Linked DNA regions of Homo sapiens: region 1 is linked to region 2. The links are contacts of gene promoters, found by promoter capture Hi-C in blood cells and fetal thymus (Javierre and others, 2016). All regions are on one chromosome and are shown on one strand. Each heading gives the region's core, a stretch centred on a gene start or on the middle of the fragment in contact. The rest is flanking DNA. Distances are from core to core; before and after follow the strand shown. Region 1 overlaps ZNF268 (zinc finger protein 268). Region 2 holds the start of ZNF891 (zinc finger protein 891).

Region 1 (5,716 bases), core at 1,845-4,344, 84 kb before region 2:
TGGCTAGGACTGGACCTCCCAAAAGGGGATCTCTACCAGTGGTTGATGGTCCTGCCAGGATGGAGGCTGGAGGCTCCTCACTTTCTCTGTTCAGCACCTATGAGGAGGAACTGCTGCCCACAGGCCCTTCCTTCCCCTGTCTCCTTTCTGGCTTTATCCCTGGCCTCTCTGACAATGGGATGTGGCCCCACAGCCTGTTCTGCCCTCATCCCATTAAAGGACCAGCCTGAGTCCAGTGGACACAGGTAAGGCACCATGACCAAGTGGTGTGACCCCTTTCTGTGCCTTCCTGAGGCACCTGTCTAGAGAATGAAGGGACATAATGGCTGTTCCAGTGGATTGATGGCTGGGAGGAGGGGCCAAGAGAGGTATGAGGGGTGGGGTTTGGCCAGCCCTGGGCTTTCTGGACTCCAGGGACAGCGAGGTGGGGGCTCAGGGCAGCTCCAGTGACAGCAAGGTAGAAGCTCAGGACAGCCCCAGGGACAGGGGTGGAGGCTCAGGTGCAGCCCCAGGGACAGCAAGGTAGAGCCTAAAACAGCACCAGGAGACTGAGAACTGAGACCAGGACTTCCAGACAGAGTGGAAATGACCACCCAATAGCAGTGGTGGCCCATGAAGAGCCCTACTTCCCTGACTCACCCTCTCGGGTGGGCTTGGGAGGCAGCTGTGGTCTGGAGAGAGTGGTGGATGGAGCATGCCTGTGTTCCTTTCCTAGGGCTGCTGTAACAAAGCACCACAAACTGAGAGGCTTAGAGCAACGATTTGTTGTCTCCGAGTTGGGAAATCCAGGAGACTGAGTCATGCTCTTTCTGAAGAGTGGAAAGGATTGCCCCCAGGCCTCTCCCCAGTTCTACTTGTTTCTTGGCTTGTGACATTGAAGCTTCAGTCTTCAGTAGCCTTCCTCCCTGTATGCATGTCTGTGTCCAAATTCCCCCTTTTTATAAGGACACAATCATAGTGGATTAAGGCTGGCTTTAATTACTTCATCTCACATTTATCATCTGCAAAGACCCTATTTCCATATAAGGCCGCATTCACAGCTACTGGGGGTCAGTACTTGAACATATGAATTTGGGGGATATAATTCAACCCCAGCAGTGTCTCTGTCTCTGCTGGTGATCACCATATCCCTGCTGGTGCCAAGTAATCATGGCCCCTCCCAGGGTGCCCCATCCTTGTACCTGGTGCTCCAGGCAGTTCACAGGAGGGCCTAACTGCTGGGTTTGGGGCTGGCATTGGGATCCCTTGCCCAGTAAGGGCTGGATCCAGACTGTTCTGGGGTTGAGGTGCTGGTGTTTTGAAGGCAGGAAAAACCAGAGGCTGGTCCTTCTCTGGACGGTGAACCACAGCAAGGGACCTCTCATGGGGGCTCCCATACCTCCTGTGACCTGGGCAGAAAGTCGTACAGTCCCAGGCCTCCAAAGGCAAAAGCCCCTTCTGACTCAGATAACATCCCTCCCACTCTGCTTGCCTGCAGAGCCCCGGAGGTTTCTGGGGAGCTTCAGTGGAGCTGAATCATCAGGGTTGAGGCAGGCCCTAGCATTGATCGTTAGCAACCAGAGAGTGGAAGCGGTGTAGATGGCAGCGAGTTGCAGGTGGCCTCAGTTCTAACTAAATATTACAATACTAGCATGATTCCACTTCCTGGAGCTGGCCTCTGGGGAGCCCCAGGCTGGTGTATTTATGATAGGGTCTGTGTGGCTCATGAGGCTTCACGTGGGACTTGGGCCATCTCATGACCAGACAAGTGCCCCCACAGCTGGGTTACCTCTGCTGTGTGGCCTGGACACAGGTTCATGTGACTCACAAACTTTGAGTGGCACCTGGAAACGAGGTTCTGGGCTGGAACCTGAGTGTGAACCTCACTTGGAGGCTGTGTGATTGCAGGTGAATCATTCAATCACCTGAGCCTGGCCCTCCCCTCTGCACAAGGAACTAGCCATACCTAGCAGATAGCTGTGAGTCACCTGAGCAAGATAGCTGCATGGTGATGGTCAGAAAACACTGATTTCTCCTTATTGAAATGGGACAACCCTTGGATACCACGTGCCGAGCTATGAATTCCAGCAATGCAAGTTTCAAAAGACCCTGTGTGCCCTAAGGAGGCACTGCTGATCACTTAGTGTCTGTGAAGGCATCAGAAGGTGACCTGGACCTGGAATGATGAAACAGCCATGGGTTTAGGAGCTGGCAGATGGTGTGGCTGGAGCACATGTCTGGAATGTGGTTGGCCAGGCCCAGGCAGCACTGGGCTATGGAGGGACTTAAATGTGAGGCTAAGAGGGCTGACCCTGGTGAGGGAATGCTGTGGACTAGATTTTTTTATTGAGGTAAAATTTACACAATATAAAATTAACTTTTAAAAATGTACATTTCTGTGACATTTAGTCCATGCACAACATTGTGCAGCCACCACCTCTTAGTTCCAAAATAGTTTCATCACCCCAAAGGAAATCCTCCATCCATTAAGCAGCTGTCACACATTTCATCCTCCCTCCGACCCTTGACAACCACCAATATGCTCTCTTTGGATTTACCCATTCTGGGTATTTCATATAAGTGGTATCATACAGTATGTGACCTTTTTGTGGCCAGCCTCTTTCTGCACATTGCTTTTATTTTTATCTTTGTAGACATGGAGTCTTGCTATGCTGCCCAGACTGGACTTGAACTCCCAGGCTCAAGCGACCCTCCCACCTCAGCCTCCCGAGTAGCTGGGATTACAGGTGTGTGGCCTTGTGCTGGGTTCTCAGCACAATGTTTCTGAGGTTCCTCCACGTTGTAGCAAGGGTCAGTCATAGCAGCTTTACCATTTTACAGCGGTGTTCACATTTCTCCACTTCTTTGTCAATACTTGTTTCTGGTTTGTTTTTAAAATAATAAGACATTCTGATGGGTATGGAGTGTTATCTCATTGTATTTTTGATTTATATTTCCATGATGGCTAGTGATGTTGAGTATCGTTTCATATGCTATTTGCATATCTTCTTTACAGAAAAGTCTCTTCAAGTCCTCTGCCCATTTTGATATTGGGTTGTCTTTTTGTTGTTGGGTTGTAAGAGTTCTTTATATGTTCTGGATACTAGACCCTTATCAGGTATATTATTTTACAGTGTCTTTTCTCCTATATTCACCTTTTTTTTTTTTGAGACGGAGTCTCGCTCTGTCGCCCAGGCTGGAGTGCAGTGGTGAGATCTGGGCTCACTGGTTCCAGGTTCACGCCATTCTCCTTCCTCAGCCTCCCAAGTAGCTGGGACTACAGGCTTCCACTACCAGCCTGGCTAATTTTTTGTATTTTTTTGTAGAGACAGGGTTTCACCACATTAGCCAGGATGGTTTCGATCTCCTGACCTCGTGATCCACCTGCCTCAGCCTCCCAAAGTGCTAGGATTACAGGCGTGAGCCACCACACCCGGCCTTTTTTTTTTTTTTGAGATGGAATTTTGCTTTCTTGCTCTGTCACCTGGGCTGGAGTGCAGTAGCATGATCTCGGCTCACTGCAACCTCCACCTCACAGCTTCAAGCGATCCTCCTGCCTCAGCTTCCTGAGTTGCTGGGATTACAGGCACATGCCACCACACCCGGCTTTTTTTTTTCTCTTTTTTTTTATTTTTAGTAGAGACGTGGTTTCACCAAGTTAACCAGGCTGGTCTCGCACTCCTGACCTCAAGTGATCCTCCCACCTTGGCCTCCCAAAGTGCTGGAATTACAGGCGTGAGCCACCACACCCAGCTCCTTTTCACTTTCTTGATAGTGTCCACTGATGCCGAAAGTTTTCAATTTTGGTGAAGTCCAATTTACCTATTTTTTCTTTTGTTTCCCATGCTTCTGGTGTCATATCCAATAAATCATTGCCAAATCCAGTGCCAAGAAGTACATGAAAAGATTTTCAACATCACTAGCCATTAGGTAAAGGAAAATCAAAACCACAATGAGATACCATTTCATACATGTTAGAGTGGCTATTATAAAAAATATGGAGGCCAAGTGCAGTGGTTCAAGCCTGTAATCCCAGCACTTTGGGAGGCCAAGGTAAGTGGATCACTTGAGGACAGGAGTTTGAGACTAGCCTGGCCTGGCCAACATGGTGAAACCCTGTCTCTACTAAAAATACAAAAAATAGCCATACATGGTGGCACATGCCTGTAATCCCAGCTACTCAGGAGGCCGAGGAAGGAGAATCACTTAAACCTAGGAGGCGGAGGTTGCAGTGAGCTGAAATGGTGCCACTGCACTCCAGCCTGGGTGACAGAGTGAAACTCCATTTCAAAAAAACCAAAAAACTATTTGGGTGTAGTGGCACCTGTAGTTCCAGCTACCCAGGAGGCTGAGGTGGAAGGATCCCTTGAGCCCAGGAGGTTGGGGCTGCAGTGAGTTATGATCATGCCTATGAAATGAGAGAGAAACAAACTAATTAATATTGGCAAGTATGTGGAGAAATTGGAAGCCTTGTGCACTGCTGGTGGAATGTAAAATGATAGTTGCACAATAATGGAAATAATGTACTTCATGCCACTGAAGTGTACACTTAAAAATAGTTAAAATGGTAAATGTTCTTATTATATATATGTGTATATATATGTGTATATGTGTATATATATGTGTATATATGTGTGTATGTGTGTGTGTATATATACATATATATATATATATATATATATATATATATATATATATATATATATATATAAAATCACACATGAAAGTCTCCCTTGGAACTGATCCTGAAATAATTTCATGTGTGATGAAAGAACACCCTGCTCTCCTGGAGTGATAAGTGGCCTTTTTGTTCATGCTGGCATTATACATCCCAGGCTCTTCCACACACACCCAGCATAATTTCACCAAGCAGAGGGAGTACACTCTCCAAAGGCCCATTTGTGCCTGTTTCTATCATTATATCCTCCTATTTAACTCACTCCCTGCCCTCTACAAACCGTCATCAATCACAGATATGTTTGCTACCCCTGTAGTTTCTGCTTTTCCATAACATCATAGAAATAGGATCATACAGCCTTTTCACACTGGTCTCTTTCACTTAGCAATATGCCTATCAGATTCATCCATGTCCTGCATGGCCTCAGAGCTTGCTCTTGCTGAACAGGACTCCATTGCATGGATGTACCCCAGCCTAGTTAGTCATTCACCTATTGAAGGTTATCCTGATTCCTTAAAGTATTTGTCTGTTATGAAAAGAGCTGCTGTACGTGAGTACATGCTGGGTTTTGTTTAGATCAAACTCCTATGTTTTCAAAGCAGTTATCTAAATACCTAGGAGTGTGATTGTTGGCTCATATTGTGAAGCTTTGTTTAGCTTTGGGGAAAAGTCAAACTATCTTCCAAAGTGGCTATACTATTATGCATTGCACCAGCAATGAATGAGAGTTCCTGTTGCAATTGCAAATTTACTTATTTTTAGATTATAGTCACTTTAATAGATGTGCGGTGCTATCTCGTTGTTTTAATTTGCTTTTCCCTCATGACAAGTGTCACTGAGCATTATTTGGTATGCTTATTTGCCATCTGTATATCTTCTTTTTTTTTTTTTTGAGACGGAGTTTCACTCTTGTTGCCCAGGCTGGAGTGCAATGGCGCGATCTCGGCTCACAGCAACCTCCGCCTCCCGGGTTCAAGCCATTCTCCTGCCTCCGCCTCCGGAGTAGCTACCACTTGGTGGCAGAGTAGCGCCACCACGCCTGGCTAATTTTGTATTTTT
Region 2 (5,299 bases), core at 382-2,881:
AAATATTGTCCTAAGTAGAATTTCCAGACAGTGCTTATATAAAATACTGATAAGCAGAAATTCTCATTTAATTTATGATGTGTATCTCAAATCTCTGCCCTTGTGACTAGCATATACTAAGAGCTAAAGAAATGCATGCTGAGAGAAGTAATCAAAAAACAAATGTAACTTTCAAAAAGAGGCAGGAGCGTGTGCAACTTACCATCCAAGAGGCTTTGGAAGATGGGGGACAATTTTAGTAAAACAGAAGAGATTAGTTATGTCACAAGAGAAAAGTTAGTGTGGAGGTAATTTTCAAAAGGGTAGGGAGGATTTGTGCTATCCAGTTCTCGGAGACCTAACTGCAGTCATTTCTAACCTAATAACACTTGTTGGCTGGCATTCTGGGTGACATCCTGCCTTCCCTTTTACTTTTTTTTTTTTAATTAACAGTATCTTTCTGCAATTAATGTATAGCTGGAATTGAAATTGTTCACCTTCTGCATACACTTTGGGTGGGATCTACGTACGAAATCTTGATGTTAACCTTATCTTTGACACTCATATTATGTGTTAGATGGCGTATATATATCTAGTGTCAAGGGAAAATAAAAATATAGTAATTAAACTTATGATCTGTCTCTGAAAATAAAAAAAATAGATTAACCACACAAACACGCCTTCAGTTAATCTATCTGATTAAAAAACAAAACAAAGATGAGGAAGCTAAGAGCTAGAGATGCAGGATTTGTTTTTAAAAGACCACACACGAATCGGCGTCACTATTTCAACAAATACTAGAAAGGCCATATGCAAAATTTTAAACATCTATCCCAGCTGGGGGGAAAAATGGAAGTTAGACTAGAAGAAACCTTATTTTGTATTACTGAAAATATCTGGTTCAAACTTACCACCACCGCCGCCCACTCTGCGTCAATCTCCAGGTGCAGCCGTTATTCTCCACAGAACAAGAACGTCCGCCGTGAACGCCGGGGCCGCGCGAGGGACAGAAAGTGACTGAGGCAAGGGGTGACGATCACCGTTAAATTTTTTCATTGACGAAATTACCGTCTACCTAGAAATACGAAGCTAATACACTGCTACATTACTAAAGGGCTCAACACGCGCCTGATGACGATGCAAACACAAAATTCAGCACTTTCGTATATACCTGCAATAAGCAACTAGAAGGTTCGATGGGAGAAAGCGATCCCGTCACAAAGGCAGCAGCAACAGCAAAACAGAGAACGCGACTCCATTCACCAGCGGAGCGCGAAGAGCGGCGTCAGAGGTGAGTCTGAGGCCGGCTCGGCACGGCGGCGCCACCTCCCCGTGGCCTGACGTCACGCACGCGCACGCGCCCCGCCCCCATTGGTCCTACGCCCGCCCCTGCTGCGAACGCACGCACACGCACCCACAACACACACCGTTACGCACGCGCCCCAGCCTGGCGTTCAGGCCACGCTCCGCCCCCAGCCCGTCAGCCGCGCGCCCCGGGACCCTAGAGCCGGCGATTCGTCGCCGGCGCCGCAGCCGCCACTCTGTGCCGGACCCTGCGGGCCTTCGGCCCAGAGCGCGTCCGTGACGCACAGACCAGGCCCCTCTGCGGGGCGGCGCAGGAGCTCCTGGGAAACGTAGTTCGGCCTCGCGTCCCCCTCGGGCGGGACCGCGGACGCCTGGAGGCAGGCACTGAGGACGGGTGAGCATGCGGGCCTGTGGCTCGTTCACCCGGGACAAGTCCCTCGTGGGATCAGCCTGGCCCGCTGAGTTCTCCTGCGTGCAGGGATCGCCTCACGGGAGTCTGAGCAGCAGGGAGCCTGCCCGGGAGGCGGCGGTGGGAGAGGCCCTTGAGGGAGGAGGGGCTACTTACCGGGTGCGAGTGGAGCGCGGGGAGCGAGTGGGGACCAGGGGCGCGCGGGGCGGAGGGGTCCCGGGCTGGCTGCGGGTGCCACGCAGGGAGCGCTGGGGGGCCGGGGATGCGCGTTTGCCTCCTTCTCTAAGCAACACGGGAGGGCTAAAGGGTGCACGCCTCTGTCCAGCAGCCTCTCTTGAATCTCTAAACCTAGTAATGAGTTGAATCACAGCCATCGTTTTTTTCACCTATTGCCTTATACTGTGGTTGAATGCGATATGGTTTTATTTCTTTAATACTCTGGTGTATTCAATTGGCTGTTTCCCTTTGACTTCACCTATGCTCACAAGATTGTGTTTTAATCTTTTTGTGTACTATCCTTGCCCGTTATACTAACAAGATTTTACAAGCTTCATGAATAATTTGGACAGCACAGTCTCTCTTCTATTCTGTAAAACAGGTCACCACCCCTCACCGCCCCCCGCCCGCCTCCAAAAGTTTGGTGCTATTTGGTCTTAAAATATTTAGTACGCATTTAACTTCTGACTCAATTTTTTTTTTTTTTTTTTTTGAGACAGAGTTTCGCTCTTTGTTGCCCAGGCTGGAGTGCAATGGCGCCATCTTGGCTCACAGCAACCTCCGCCTCCCGGGTTCAAGTGATTCTTCTGCCTCAGTCTTGTGAGTTGCCGGGATTACAGACATGAGCCACCACGCCCAGCTAATTCTGTATTTTTAGTGGAGATGGGGTTTCTCCATGTTGGTCAGGCTGGTCTGGAACTCCCGACCTCAGGTGATCAGCCTGCCTCGGCCTCCCAAAGCGCTGAGATTACAAGCGTGAGCCACCGCACCCGGCCCTGACTCAATTTTTTAAAAAGTCTCATTGATTAGGTTTTTTAGTTCGTATTCTGTTTTAGATACCTTTCCTAGATAATTGTTTTTAATCTAATTTTTCAAATTTATTGGCATAAAATTGCCCATGCTATTTTATCACTGTAAGTAATTTCTATGGTGATTTTTAAAATCACCACTTTTTAATATTTTACTGCTGTAATTGTTATTTTTTTCTTTTTTGAACCTAATTATCTAGGCCTTTTTTTCTTGATTACTCCTATAAGGTATATGTGTACATAGTCTTTTCAAAAATGTAGATTTGGTTTTGGTTTTTTTGTTGTTTTGTTTTGGTCTTTTTTGGGGAGGGGGGTCCTATTACAGTAAGTTTTGCTCTTAATTTTTAAATTTTTCTTTTACTTTGTCTCTGTTTTTCTACTTTTTTTTTTTTTTCGAGACAGAGTTTCACTCTGTCTCCAGGCTGGAGTGCAGTGGCGTGATCTCGGCTCACTGTAGCCTCTACCACCCGGATTCAAGCGATTCTCCTGCCTCAGGCCCCACCACGCCCGGCTAATCCAGCTAATTTTTGTTTTTGTTTGTTTGTTTGTTTTTGAGACAGAGTCTCTCTCTCTCGCCCAGGCGGGAATGCAATGGCAGGATCTCTGCTCACTGCAACTTCCACATCCCGGGTTCAAGCCATTCTCCTGCCTCAGCCTCTGGAATAGCTGGGATCACAGGCGCACACTGCCATGCCCGGTTAATTTTTTGTATTTTTTAGTAGAGACGGGGTTTCACGGTGTTGCCCAGGCTGGTCTCGAACTCTTCAGCTCAGGCAATCCGCCCGCCTTGGCCTCCCAAAGTGCTAGGATTACAGGCGTGAGCCACCGTGCCTGGCCATCTGCTTCTTGATTTGACTGGGTAATTAATTTACTACTCTTTATTTGTGCTCCAAGAAATGTGTGTGTACATTTTTAAGAGCTGAATATGTTAAAAGACTCATAATAAAAACAGGAAACACCTTAACCCCATCTCTTCCCAGTGGCAACCACTTGGAAATATTTAAGCAGTTCTGGCTTCGAACTCCTCTCAGTATTTTTTTATTCACCGATTTGTGACATTATTTTAAAATTTTTATCATGTTAAATAAGAACTTTGGCTGCCTTCTTTCTACATCCTTAAATCACAATGTAATTATTTTACAAATATTATAATGTAGTTCTCCCACAAATTTTGGATAAATATGTTCAGTGTTTTCATTTGATGACTACTCTTTAGTACTGAGCCATAATATGTTTCTTTCTTGTGCAAGGTTTACCTTTCTTGTTTTTAATGACTGCCTTTTTTATTCATTTGCTTAGTTTTTCTTAAATCTATGTAAAATGTCTTTTGGTTCCATTTTCCTCAAGGGCTAATCTGTCATACAGTCTTATCACTTTTCTCCTTTCCTGGACATCCCCCTGCAATGTAGATTGATCAGTTACTCTGTAGGCATGCAGCACGCTGGCATACCACTGGGCTTCCCTTTTGCCCTCATCAATTTCCTCATCTCACCTCTGTGTTAAATCTCCTGTTTCCTGTAAAGCACTTCTATTCCTGTTTGGTGGATTGTAATCTTAACTGCCTTGAAGAAAGGGTCCATATGATCTACATATATTAAAGTTGTAGAAATGATTAGAAATTACTTTTTCCTCACATTTGTGTGGTGTTTTCACCGAGTATACACATCTCAATAGGAAATTACTTTCCATTAGAATTTTGAAAGCCAGTGAAGCTAGATAGGAAATGGAGCAGTGTTACTGTTACTGTTGAGAAGTCCTATTTCATACCTTGTTCTTTTATGTGTAATCTGTTTATCATCTCTTGGAGCTCTTTGGTATTCAAAAATTTCATGATGATGTGTGTTCTAATTATTTAAAGAAATTACTTGCTTTGATGGATCAGTTCTTAGATACTGTGTTTTTTTAAGGAATAAGAAGTTTCTGGCCGGGCACCGTGGCTCACGCCTGTAATCCCAACATTTTGGGAGGCCGAGGTGGGTGGATCATGAGGTCAGGAGTTCAAGACCAGGCTGGCCAAGATGGTGAAACCCCATCTCTACTACTAAAAATAAGAAAATTAGCCGGGCGTGGTGGCCGGCGCCTGTAATCCCAGCTACTTCGGAGGCTGAGGCAGAGAATTGCTTAAACCCGGGAGGCAGAGGTTTCAGTGAGCCGAGATTGTGCCACTGCACTCCAGCTTGGGCGACTCCGTCTCAAAAAAAAAAAAAAAAAAAAAAAGTTTTCCTGTACTTGTTTGTTTCTTCCTCTTGTTTTTTCTTTCTGGAACTCTGAGTAATCTGGGGTACCTTAAATTGCTCATATAGTGGTCTTTTTTTATTTATTCTTACTTTTTCTTTTAGATCAGCTTTACTTATTTATTCATTTATTTATTGAAACAGAGTCTCACTGTGTTGCCCAGGCTGGAGTGCAGTGGCACATCTCGGCTCACTGCAGCCTCCACCTCTTGGGTTCAAGCATTTCTCCTGCTTCAGCCTCCCGAGTAGCTGGGATTACAGGTGTGCACCAACACATCTAGCTTTTTTTTTTTTTTGTATTTTTATTTGAGACGGGGTTTCACTGTGTTGGCCAGGCTGGTCTTAGA

Evidence for each region. Contacts are between HindIII fragments. The CHiCAGO score rates a contact against its expected background, and 5 or more counts as called.
Region 1: a fragment that was not itself captured here is called in contact with the fragment with the promoter of ZNF891 in region 2 in 2 of 17 cell types (M1 macrophages and total CD4 T cells); the score reaches 5.8 in M1 macrophages.

Annotation. Positions count from the first base shown.
Region 1 is chr12:133,211,420-133,217,135 of GRCh38, reverse strand. ZNF268 (zinc finger protein 268) reads right to left here. Exons shown (of 6, transcript NM_003415.3): 6 at 2,304-5,716. Among named protein-coding and RNA genes, the nearest start is that of ANHX, 22 kb to the left of the region's middle. The HindIII fragment of the contact is 4,424 bases long and covers 883-5,306 here.
Region 2 is chr12:133,126,606-133,131,904 of GRCh38, reverse strand. ZNF891 (zinc finger protein 891) reads left to right here and starts at 1,631. Exons shown (of 2, transcript NM_001277291.2): 1 at 1,631-1,678. It overlaps ZNF10 (zinc finger protein 10), which reads right to left and starts at 1,278. Exons shown (of 5, transcript NM_015394.5): 1 at 1,151-1,278. RefSeq lists an enhancer at 896-1,175 and silencers at 1,226-1,465, 1,836-2,015. The HindIII fragment of the contact is 7,004 bases long and covers 1-2,243 here.